Regions from separate parts of the Homo sapiens genome. Here region 2 is linked to region 1. Evidence: promoter capture Hi-C in human tissues and cell types (Jung and others, 2019). All regions are on one chromosome and are shown on one strand. Each heading gives the region's core, a stretch centred on a gene start or on the middle of the fragment in contact. The rest is flanking DNA. Distances are from core to core; before and after follow the strand shown. Region 1 holds the start of DPYD (dihydropyrimidine dehydrogenase). Region 2 overlaps DPYD (dihydropyrimidine dehydrogenase).

Region 1 (6,298 bases), core at 1,666-4,165:
ACTACTATTAACGGACTTTAAAATGCTAATCATTTCATTGGAAGTGATTTTCCTGAGAATAAGATATATTTTTCTGTTATCTTTATTTTTTAACATTTTTGTCCTTTTTCCCAACAAGATGCTGTCAACTTGTGACATTTGTTTATTATCCTTAGCAGATTTTCCATGTGCAATTCAGAGAGGCTAACTTGCCCAAACACACAGCTTAAAGTTAGACCTCAATCAGAGGCAGTTGGTTTCAGAAGCCAGGCTCTGAACCACATTAATATATCTGAAAAAAAACATGATTTCTCATGCAACTTCTATGATTACAACAACAACAACAACAATTCTGAGTAATGAGCTAGGTCCTATTACCAAGTAACACATCCTTTCCTTGCCTATCTCCCAGCCCAGGGATATTCCAGCTATGGAGTTTGGTGATCTGATTGTTTTCCATGTTCCTAACCGTCAAATCCTGATGTGATATTGGATTCAGACTAGAAATTATGAAGCAGGCACACAAAGCACCTTTATATATACCTCAATAACTTTTCCCCCAGAAACAAAGATATTTCTTGGCTGTTTCACTGAAACCTGAGGTTCTGTAGTTAGCTCATAGGGAAAAGTCAGTCACTATTAGAGTAGGTTGTTATCATCACCTTCTGTTCTTTTAACAATTGTCAAGTACTTTTCACATTTATCAATGTGTTCTTATCACATTCATTAACTGCTTCATACCAATATTTTTAAAATATTACTTGCTTATCCATGTATTTGAAGCTAAAACAATGATCACAATCAGATCTCTAGACAATGGTTGTAATGAATTTGTTCAAGAAAAGCATTCAAATTTGATGGAAAACTGAGCCTTTATAATTCATTCTAATTCTTCAACACAAAAATGAACTTTGGTAAATCAATAGGATCAACTGAGGCATTTATGCTTGAATGTGCTCCCCTAAGCTTAATGTATTTTTCCTCACTGCATTATATTTTAATGATTAATTTCATGCTCTTTCATGGTATTCTAGCTCATGAATCACGGGTATTACTTTGAGGGAAAAGTAAGGTGCTGTGAGTGATGAAAGATGTTACTGATTAAAGTGTTGCACATATGAACTACATAAGAGCTGAAGGTGTTTGAACACCAGCAATCTAGATTAAAAGTAATATTAGGCAAACTGGCCATATAGACTAAGGTTGAATTGAGTGGAGGGAGTGGGAAGGATGGGCTTCTTAAATGTTCTTAGTTGAAACAATATATGAAATCAAGCTTGGCATTCAATGTTTCACTGGCATCTTTCTCCTCAGTAGAATGTAAGAACTGATTTCGAAGACAACTGCAGAGAAAGAAATCAGTTAAGCAGATAACACACCATTCTGAAATTAAAGAGCCAAAAGCCACCCATCCTAAGTCAACTCCGATATCTTAAATCAATACTGCCTTAATACTGTCAGAAGCTTGTTTTTCGACTTAGTAAATAAAATTTTTTAAAAAGTTAAGTCAAAGTCACAAGGACCAAAAAGGAATAGACTACCCTAAATGAAATATAGAAAAAGACAAGTATCTATTATCCTGCACACAGATGAACAACTATTTGTTAAATATATCATATTGCTCAATATCAAAAAGTCAACTCTCCAAAACAGAAACCAAAAGTAAACTAACCAGAGATGTCCACATAATACACTTTGGCTCTTGTTACTAAAATGATTTTTCAAACCAAGTTATGGAGCCTGGAGAAAACAGGACTACTTCCTCCCAGAATATAAAGTTTCTTCAATTACGGAGGCAAAATGTGGCAAAAGCAGCTATTTTGCAAACAGGTGGTTTGCAAAACTTTTACTTAAGCCGCCAAAAGGACTGACGAAAGGAAAATTTTGTTATTTCTAAAGAAAACACACACACACATAATTTTCTACCAGAGTAGAAGACTCAAATAAAGAAAAGCCCCAAACAAAACAGAAAACTAAAAATCAGTTTGTCTTAGCTCAAAAGTGCTGACCTAGGTTTAGTATGTGTAAAATCACTGTTGATAATTAAATCCTTTTCATCGCATATATTAAGATACTAGAGAGAAAGGAAATGCCATGTCGTTTCAGGTAGGACCTTATTTACATAAAAAAAGATTTTTTTTAACAGAAACGGAGTGCAAGAGGGAATCAAAAACCGTTGAGAGGAGAGAAAAATACAGTTAGTTTTTCTGAGGGCACTGCATTTTTCATGTTCTGAATACTTCGTTCCATTCTCTCCATGTTAAATTATTTCATAAACAATACTATGACTAGAGGCGACTGCTACAGCTGACACACAGATGTTTTATTTCTATGCTTCACCTTTGCAAATAGCAGGATTCAGCTATTGGAAATGGGGGCAGTGGAGGTGTCCAGAAACGACATACAGGAGGTGAAGGGGTAGAACGTGTGGGAAATGGGCACTCCTACCCCCTAGAGTCCACCTCTCTGGAACTCCAGTGCTTCTTCAGTCACTGACATTCAGAGGAGGACAAGACAGGCTTCCTGAAATCTCTTCCGAAGTAAACAGGTCCCGACGCAAAGGGCAACCCCTCCAGTAGCGGAAAGTCCTCCCCTGAGCTCCCCGCCTGCCCACGCGGGCCTGTGGCTCCGCGCTCCTCCGCTCCCCCGCAGAGCTCCCACGGGGGAAACTTTCCCGCGTCTCTCACTCTCCGGGGTGCGGGGGCCGCGGGGGCCTCCCCGGCACCTACCCGCAGAGCACTCCCCACCACCCCGCCACCACCGACGAGCCGGCGCGAAGTCCGTACCTCGATGTCCGCCGAGTCCTTACTGAGCACAGGGGCCATGGCAGTGCCTACAGTCTCGAGTCTGCCAGTGACAAACCCTCCTTGCGTCCTCAAGCTCCAGCCAGAGAGCCAAGTGACAGCAGCCGGAGCGCGAGTCGAAAACAGGCAGACTAGGGCCGGCGGCGCGGGGGCGGAGCGGGCGCGGGGCGGCAACGCCCCCGGGGCGGGGCTGCGCTCTCGGTCCTGCGGCTCCCGCGCCAGGCACGGCAGCCGCAGCCCGGCCTTCCCAGTTCAGCCCGCTCCGCGCCCCAGCCTGCAAGCAGAAGGGAGGGAGGGAGTAGAGCACCCGCTCTGGGGACTGGCCTTTAATCTCTAAACTGCTAAAAACAGAGCTAGGCAGGCGGGGCCAGATAGGAGGGATCCCCAGGCAAAGGTAAAAGCAGTCCGCGCTCCAAGCAACAACTTGCACTTTTTCTTTTCTTCCACAGAAACCCCGCGAGATGTAGATACATTGTTTGAGGGGCAACTGCATTTTCAGGAACTCCTCAAGGATGAAATAGTAGATGTTCCTCCATCCATCCACCAAGTAGGTGGGCGGGGTTTGAGCTGCAGTGGAGGATACCAAAGCACCGGTCTTCTGAGAGTTCACAGCCCCAGCGGGGAGGGGAGGGAGGCGAGCAAAAACATCCACAGCCCGCAGCAGCATACAGGAAGTGCTGCAGGTGGTACATAATCAAGGTTGTCTTTTTGCAGGAAAGTCTCATTTTAATGGTTATTTTTTTAAATATTTTTTATTCTAAAACGTGAAACTCTTTTGAAAAGTTGCTCTTCGTTTTTGCTCTAGAGCTTGCTGAGGAGAAGGGAGAGATTTCCTGTAGAGTTGGTCCCAATCCAGAAAACATTCACCTCGTTTTTTGAGGATATGTGTACTCCAGACCTCTCTCCTTTTCTCCCCGCCCCCCCCCCACCCCTGTTAGATGCATCCCACCTCTCTTCTACCATAACACTTTCTACTTCCGTTAGGACATTTGCGGCACTCCTTCATGCACTTGGCTAGGTAGTGACACCTTGGAGTCAAGTATTTCTCCCTTATTATTTTTTCATTAGTCCATTCATCGTTTTATTCAACGAATATGTTTATTGAGCATTTTCAATATGCCAGACACAGACACTGTGCTAGGTTCTCCGGATATAGTCTTCAAGAATACACATCACTGTCATGGAGATTATACTCAAAATAAGCAAGTAAGAAAATGTGATGCCTGCTTGTAAGATAAAAGAAAAATAGGACAGAATAACTAGGGTATGGGTACCTTGCGTGGTTGAGAAGGCTTCTCTGAACAAACCATCAGATTACCTTCCAGAACCTGGAAATTACTAAAAGACAGATACATTTTTCTTGAATCAAATATTAACAGACACTAGAAAGTTAAATGGAAACCTTAGAATCATCTTTGACTCCTTTATCCTTATTGCCTCATTTAATCTATGCCCAAACTCTCAGAAGTCAACCTCCTAAATAGATTTTGAATCATTCATTTCTCCATTTTGCTGCATCCACCATGGTCCAAGCTACTGGTATTCTAGCTTCTATTCTTACCTCATATCCATACCAGATTGAGCTTTAGAAAGTATTAACTGGCTCATGCCATACAACGATACATCCACACACCCAGGTACCCATGGTATAAATCCTTCAATGGTCCATTGCAGTCAGAATATAATACAAACTCCCTAGTAACCGCTGAATAACCTGCTCTACTCCGCTTCTCCGCCACTCTTGCCCTGACTCATTATGTTCCAACCACAAGGTAATCTTCTCATCCTCCATCCACTTCTCTACCTTTGCACATTGCCCTCCACTTGGAGCTCTTCTTCCCCTTCTACTCATCATTTAGGTCTCACTGAAGCCTTTATGATCTAACCCCATCACCAACAAAATTACACCCACTCTGTCTTTTTCATTATATTTCGTCTTCATAGACTTTTCAAATGTTGTTTAAATATTTATTTGAATGTGATTCATTTAATATATGTCTTCTATTTAGAGAGGAAGCTCCAGGAAGAGGGGGCCCATGTGTACTTTTATTGTTTACTGGATACTCAGTTCCTAGCTCAGGACTGAAGCATAAGAGACCAAGAACACTTGGTGATTGAATGAACAGAGTACATTCGTTTATACACTGGGCAGTTCATTTTAGAAACTTTAGTTTCTCTGCATCACATATTCTCATTGTCCTACTTACTGCTGAGAAATAGGTCACAATATCTATCAATGAATTTGTAGTTAAAATGGGTCAAAATAACTACTTATCTTTTCATGGAGTAATGTTCCAAAGTCAGATGTTCCTGCATCTCCCTACAACCACACCTTACCCACTTACTCTAGATCCTCTTGGAGATATAGAGAGATAGATAAATCTATCTATATCTATTTTTCTATCAGTCTATATATATAAATACACATATAAACACCCAAATACATACATACATATACACACATATGTATATATTGAGAAAAGATATACACATATAAACATATATAAATTTACAAATATAATATATATAATTATAATACATATGATTTCTTCCCCAATTTAATCAGTCAGGTTCAATGTTCAATTTCCTAACTTACAGGGATACAGGCTTATTGCTCTTTCAGGTTACACTTTAACATACATCTTATCAGTTAGCAATTGATAGTTAATTTATGTGTACAAGAATCCAAGTTATCTTTAAGAGTTATACAGTGTATTTTCATATTCGTTTTCTGTTATAATTCTCCTAAACAACTATAGAGGATAAGTCCAATATACGGTGGTTTTCCAAAGATAAGAGTTTCATCGGTGATAGTCAATAATCAAATATAAAATTTAAATGCTATTTACCATCCCCCCCAACTTCATCAAACAGATGTATCCTGTTCTGACATATTAATTAAGGCATCTAATCACATTGCTCACGTGCCACACCTATGCTCTGTGATCAGTGATTTAATCTAATAATATTTTAAATTCATTGAAATTGCACATTAAGCACAGTTGTACCTGTAAATAATGCAAGCTGTTTAAAGCTTTTACTGCAAATGCATTTGCACCACACTTTTTAAAAGTTGTAAATTATGATGGCGTTTGTCAAGCTGTCCCTCCATCTGGAAGCACAGTGAAATATCAGGTGTTCCACATTAATTTTTTGTAGGCTTTGGAGAAACAGCTTATGTTTGAACCTAATAGTTTACAGTACATAAATGAATATTATTACTACCAAAGTCAGAAGTAGGACTTATGAGTCATCTTTAATTTCACATCTAAAAAGTTATTCAATATTACAAATTTAGAAACACAACAAAAATTCAGATTTCCATATGCCTTTATTTTCCCTTTGCAGTGTAGCATTAAGAGATTTTTTTTGGTGGGGGACATTTCTTTGAAAATGATTTCCTCCCAAAAAGTCAGAGGCTGAATGATCATGAGGTGCATTTTTTCCGCTGTCTGATTTTCAAGGGCCAAATTAATTCCTACCCATATTGACCAGTAGGATAATGACTAAAGATC
Region 2 (6,220 bases), core at 2,255-4,754, 410 kb before region 1:
CTGTGCAGTAATAAAGCTATGCAACTTGCAGTTTCATGTTACAGATTTGCAGTATATAATATGTAGCTCTCCAAGAGAACAAAATTTATGGACAAAATTAATGAAAACAAAATGTTTTTATCTACTTCCTATCAATATAATGTGAACACAGGTCAAGGGGTTATTTTATGTGAAGTCCAAACCATTTCTAATATTCCCTCTTAAACAGATCACTTCTCTGTTTTGTCATGATAATTTAGCTTTAATCAAGCTTGACAGATCGATTTCTCTCCCACCTTTCAAAATTTAAACTTGGAGCCGATATACATTTGTATAGAAAAATGATTTCATAACTATATTTTAAATATGACTTTACTATCTTTATAAAACATAAATAGAATCTCAAGAAAAGCAACCTTGTTATTTTGAAACATTCTTGGAAAGACAGATTTGAAGAGGAAGAATATAGTTAATAAAAGCCATTTTTGATGTTATTTAACACAAAAGCAAACAGATCTTTTCATATTTGACATTAAAAATATGATCATTTGCCTTTCTAAAGAAAGCACATACAGCTTTTATATAGACTGCACAGTAAAGAATAATAATATTTCTGTTTACTGAGATATCAACTGGCATTTCACTGTAAGTCAATGGTCTATCGGTGCTACAGCATATTAGACCTCAATCTGGCATCTACAAATGTCAAGAGTATAAAATATATATATATATACAGGATGAAAATCAAAAGCATGTTCCAAACTCCCAAAAAAATAAAAAAAGGGAAACAAAGTTCACGCAAACATATTTGCTGCAGAAATCAGTGCAATATTCAGCTGTCAATCCAGAAAAACAACGAGGGAGCCACACTGTCAGTAGGACAGGATAATAAAATTTCTAGCAGATGTTCAGTCAGGGCTCTAATTTTCACCGAACTCCCTTGGTAAGCATTTAATTTCTTTATCATATGCAAGCTTGGCAAATTGTACTTCATCAAAATTGTATTGTGAAATATTAATATTTCATATGATAACAAAACCCCATAGAATAACCTTTGTCATATTAAGAGCATCCAAATTTCAAATGTCAAGATTCTGAATTTTAATTCATTTTAAATAGATTCTTCAATTGCCATAATAAATTATAATAAGGCTAATCTAAATTGGTATACTATAATGTCACCGAAATGTATAGTACATGTAATATTTTAATAGACGTCTTTAGTAAAAGGCTGTGGGGAAATAAGTATGTTCATACTACTGAGTTGTATACTACCAACATTTCATCAATAGGAAAGCATAGAAATAAGAAATAAGCACATACGATGTAATTATATATTCACAAATTTAATCACTAATTAGGAACCAGATAAGGAAACAAAAAAAGTAGACCTCTATGAGGCAAACGGACTACTCTGCAAAATCACGTATGGAAAATAATCTTTTTTGAAAATGGCATTACATAAGCCCAAGGTGGCTTCATTATTTTTGTCATTGCAATTTGCAGAAATATGTTTAAAATAGTCTGCACAATATTTTGTTGTACCCACCATCAAAGTAAGTAAAATAGGGTTTCCAAAAAACCCCGCATGGTTACATTTCATGTGCCAAATTTAATTTCCATTTGTTCATAACTCCCCTTTTGAACCAGCATCACACACTTCTAAATTGATAGATTAAATTCAAATTGGAGGTTTAGAAGGAAGTTAGCTTCCACATTTATTTCTGCTGGTGATCCTAATAAAGGCAAGTGCTCCTAGGTTACTGAAAGACACAGCATCACAAATCAATGCATGTCACCAACAGTGTAAAGACTGATGTCTCTGATTAATCAGAATTCAATTATTGCAAGCGAAGAAAACATCAAATTCAAAGCAGCAAACACCTCTTTTTTTCAGCTATAATTCTTCACCTGTGCCCAATTAGCCACCTATTTCGGTTTACATATATGTTTTTTAATAGCATAACTAATATAGTCAGTATATGCTATCTGAGACTCAGTTTTCTCCAATAGATTAAACATTTGATTACAGCTTCTCAGTAATTCTTAACGAATCAATTGAAACAAAGACAAATATACTATCAATATTCTACAAGGTTATAAACAATTGATTCATGGTATTCTAAAGCTGAATCTAGTATATTCTGTTACGCTTCACACTTTGTTTAATAAAATATTCAGTTGATCTATTTGAAAAAATAACTTCTCTTTAAATATAAAAAATCTTTACGAAGGATTTTTTTCCTGCACTGTTTTTTTTTCTGACTTTTGAGAATTCTCTAGATTTTCCTGACCACACTTACACATTGCATCTTGTAAAGCTGTCAGAGTAAGACAGCCTTAATGTTTTAGCCATAATAATGCCAGCTATTGATCCTAGTAAGAGGAAAAAGAGAGAATGTGCTTAATGGGGCATGTTTGTTCTCTATTATTTTCTTTGCCTAAGGATAAAGCTGATTCAAATAATGATACTCTTTTCTTAGTCACTAAATTCACACATTCATATACATTAATTATTACTAACTACCAGTTAGTATTAAATACATTGAGAGGTTTAGCATTTGTAATTTATCAATAAATGGTCTAAAAATGTTAAAGTCTGTTGTTCTTTTCTAATTCAAAACCATATAAGGATGCAATCCTCTTGTATAAAGCATCTTACTTTGAAAACATGCATTTATATGCTTTGTGTACTTTAAAGACTCAATCTCAACTTTAATACGTAGTTTATTTCCTACTAAGTATAAGATGTCCACTTCTGGTTAAGTACAAAGTCATAATGTTAAATGAAACTCAGGGTATTTGTTTTTGAGAAAGGTTTCTGTATTCCAAATTTATAAAGAATCTATCTTATCACCAATACCAATAAGTTACACTGAGATTCTTTTCAACATAAATTGAATTCCAGAATTTTGTGCAAACCAAATCAATTGTGTCCCTATCTTTGAGCTGAGGCATCCAAAAATAATGAAACAATTAATAATACAAAAATAAGAGTTTGAGATTATTAAATGAAAAAGTCACTTTCATAATATTTATATCTTTGTTGCTTCCTAGACAATACTAAATGAGCAATATATGCCTGCCCCTTCTTCCATGGGACAGAAAGGAAGGAAAGAAACTAAAGATTAATGTGTAATGATAGGTCTTGTCAAATAGTTTAATAAGTAGTATTTCTTAGTAAAAAAAATCCATTATAATGTTTATACCTTAATTAAAATATATGATAGACATTTCTATATGACTTCAATAATATTTTCTTACCTTATCAAGAGAGAAAGTTTTGGTGAGGGCAAAACCCCATCCAGCTTCAAAAGCTCTTCGAATCATTGATGTGCTGGTGGCTGGAGTTGCGCTAGCAAGACCAAAAGGATTTATAAACTTCAATCCGGCCATTTCTACACTAATGTCCACCAGATCAATAGGAGTGTAAAAGAGGGGTAGTTCAGGCTTGGCAGAAACGGAAGCTCCATATTGTGACTGCAAAATACAAACCAATACTTGGTTTCATATTACATCTAAATTGTCCATATAATATTTTACCAAAAAAATCACTTCAACACAGCATCCGAATTAATATAGATTACAACAGTCTGTTTACAATGAAAAAAACTGGCAAAAAGTCAGTGAGCAGTGAACTGAATTCATATAATATGGCCTTTTAATTTCAAAGGCAGTATGAAGAGTACTAGCAGAAATAAAATCAATTAAATCAACAAACAACTGTATTTAAAACATACTGAGATTCAAATACAAAAGGGAATAATTTTAGAATTTTTCTCCCTGGTCCAATCCAGTCTCTTTGTACTTAAGTTATGAAAATACCTTTAGTGCTCAGAGATATGGGCAACGGCAAGTCAGGAGGCCTAAATTCAATTTCCAGTAATTTCACTACTGTTTAGGCGATTTTAGGAAAGGGAACTAATAAGTCCCTGTCTTTTCTTCTCTATAGTTTTCAGTATAGCAGCAGGAATGCTGCTTGCCTAATTTCTACCTCACAGGAAGACTGGAAAATTCAGGAAATCATAAGCTGCAGGGAGACATTTAATTTGGAAAGTGGGTAGTGTTCTCATGCATTACGGGGGTTTGTTCTTTTTTCTGAAACCAAATAGGTCCCAAATAGTTTACGTCAAAATCTTCGACTGGCACTCAAAACTGTAAATTTACCTTTGTTAAATGATCATGGTAATAATGCTTCTTTGCAGGATTATTGGAATGATTTAATAAAAACACTTACTCTTAGCACATGGCACACTGAAACATCATACATAGGTGCTTGCTAAATGTTGTCTCTTTTTCTGACTGGGGAGGTTATTAAAGATTGCATCAGGCCTTTTGTTTGTAAAGTGTCTCTCTCACTCCATTCCTCCCTCCCCTTCTCTCTCTCTATCTCCAAAAGACAAATAACATTGGAAAATATAAAAAGGATGAATTTTCTCAGCCAAAGCAGTTACTGAATGGACAGGGCTAGTTAATTCAAAAGTAGAAATCCATTCTCTTGTGAATCATCACTCAAAAGAAAAGTTATTTGAGCAGAACTTTAATTTTATAGGAGTGTGTCTTGTGTAGATAAAGATTTCCATGACTTGCATAGAAATTATTTCTGGCCCTCCACCACTTACAATGCAAAGCAAAGTTCACTTAATATGTAAAAAGGCATCAAACTTGTCAATTGAAACACTAATGTGTCTCTGGTACATGCAAAGAGATGCCTGATGGGATCCAGGCTTCAGCTATGGCAGGCACCTTCTCCCAGGGATGTTCTGGGCTTCAAGGCACATTTCTGAATATTGGTTAGTCTGGGTGTGAACATAATTTTTCTGTCCTCACACAGGATTGCTATACTATTAAAAGGATTATTAGCAAATACAAAAGCTACAATGTAAAATATAGGAAATTGGAGGTTAATTTGAGGTGTGTGTATGTATATCTGTCCACGCATGGATGTTAACAATGACAAAAACTGGCAAAAAGTCAGTTAGCAGTAAACCGAATATATACGATATCATCCTTTTTAAATTTCAAAGGAAGTATGGAAAGTATTATCAATTAAATAAACAAACAAACAACTTTATTTAAAACATACTGAAATTCAAACACAAAAGGGAATAATTTCAGAATTTTTCTCCTGGTCCCACTAACCAGCCTCTTTGTACTTAATTTATGAAACCTTGCTTGATGGTATTTTCTTAGCTTTGTGTAATCATAATGTAAATTCAATCAAGCAAGTTTTAGGGTTAGACTAAAGAAGAATTTCCTGACACTACAGGTTGATTAATATCAGTAAAAGTATAGAAGCAACTTCTCTGTCTTAGAAACAATGTTGAGCCAACTTGCCTTTGATGGCAATAGCATAACTACATATGGTCCCATGTGTCTGTACTTTACAAGGTGAAATAAGTGAACTTACAAGTATTCTTCTCTTTTTATGGCTGTGTGTTGAAATATCTATTTTTTTCAATCTTACAGATGAATTTTGGTTTGTTCATAATTGTAGCTATATATGGCATTAGGCAACAGCCCAAGGAGGCAGATATATGTGTAGTTCAACTTGCATTGCTTAATTTATGTAGTTTTAAATAAATAAGTAATTGCTTTGAAATTCTTACGAACATTGCTGCCTTAATACTTAGAAAGAAAATGATTTGGACACATTTTGCAAGATTTTCCTTAAGCTTCAAAACAAAACAAAAACCAAACACAACAAAGCAAACAATAATAAAATACACACACACACACACAGACACAATTCTTTCAAATGAGAAATACAGCTTCTTATATATTTTTTCTTTTATTCACAAAAGTGCTACTATGTATATGTGTTTATAATATAATCTAAAATCTTCACTTGTCATAGGCAGTCTTTTTTCATACTGTGCAACACAGGGCTATTTTTAGCTTTGTCTTTGTCGTGCTATAGCAACTCAGTCTGTTCAGCTTCATCATATATCCAAGCCCTAATGTACACCTCCTTTTCTGAATTTTAAAAGCCTGTTCCCCCTCTGTACCCTTGCTCAGAGAACTCAAGCATATCTACTTTCAGCTCCCATCACAAGGTTAATTCCTCCCAAACCTCAATTGCAATCTCCAAACTCAGATTTCCAAGAGACATCAAGGCCTTTGGATGTAGATGCTTTGCTCTTACACTTTAACCTCAACTCTTTTATCTCATCATATTCCCTCCTAACAAATATGTTATTTAGATTTTCAATTTCAGAAAATACTATTTTTCCATTCATCC

What was found. Contacts are between HindIII fragments. The study calls those that stand out against the background at their distance.
Region 2: a fragment that was not itself captured here is called in contact with the fragment with the promoter of DPYD in region 1 in 1 of the 25 tissues and cell types used here (dorsolateral prefrontal cortex).

What each region holds. Positions count from the first base shown.
Region 1 is chr1:97,918,119-97,924,416 of GRCh38, forward strand. DPYD (dihydropyrimidine dehydrogenase) reads right to left here and starts at 2,916. Exons shown (of 23, transcript NM_000110.4): 1 at 2,766-2,916. The coding sequence starts at 2,804. RefSeq lists a silencer at 2,722-3,121. The HindIII fragment of the contact is 7,083 bases long and covers 1,101-6,298 here.
Region 2 is chr1:97,512,483-97,518,702 of GRCh38, forward strand. DPYD (dihydropyrimidine dehydrogenase) reads right to left here. Exons shown (of 23, transcript NM_000110.4): 13 at 3,244-3,459. Among named protein-coding and RNA genes, the nearest start is that of DPYD-AS2, 280 kb to the right of the region's middle. The HindIII fragment of the contact is 5,806 bases long and covers 602-6,220 here.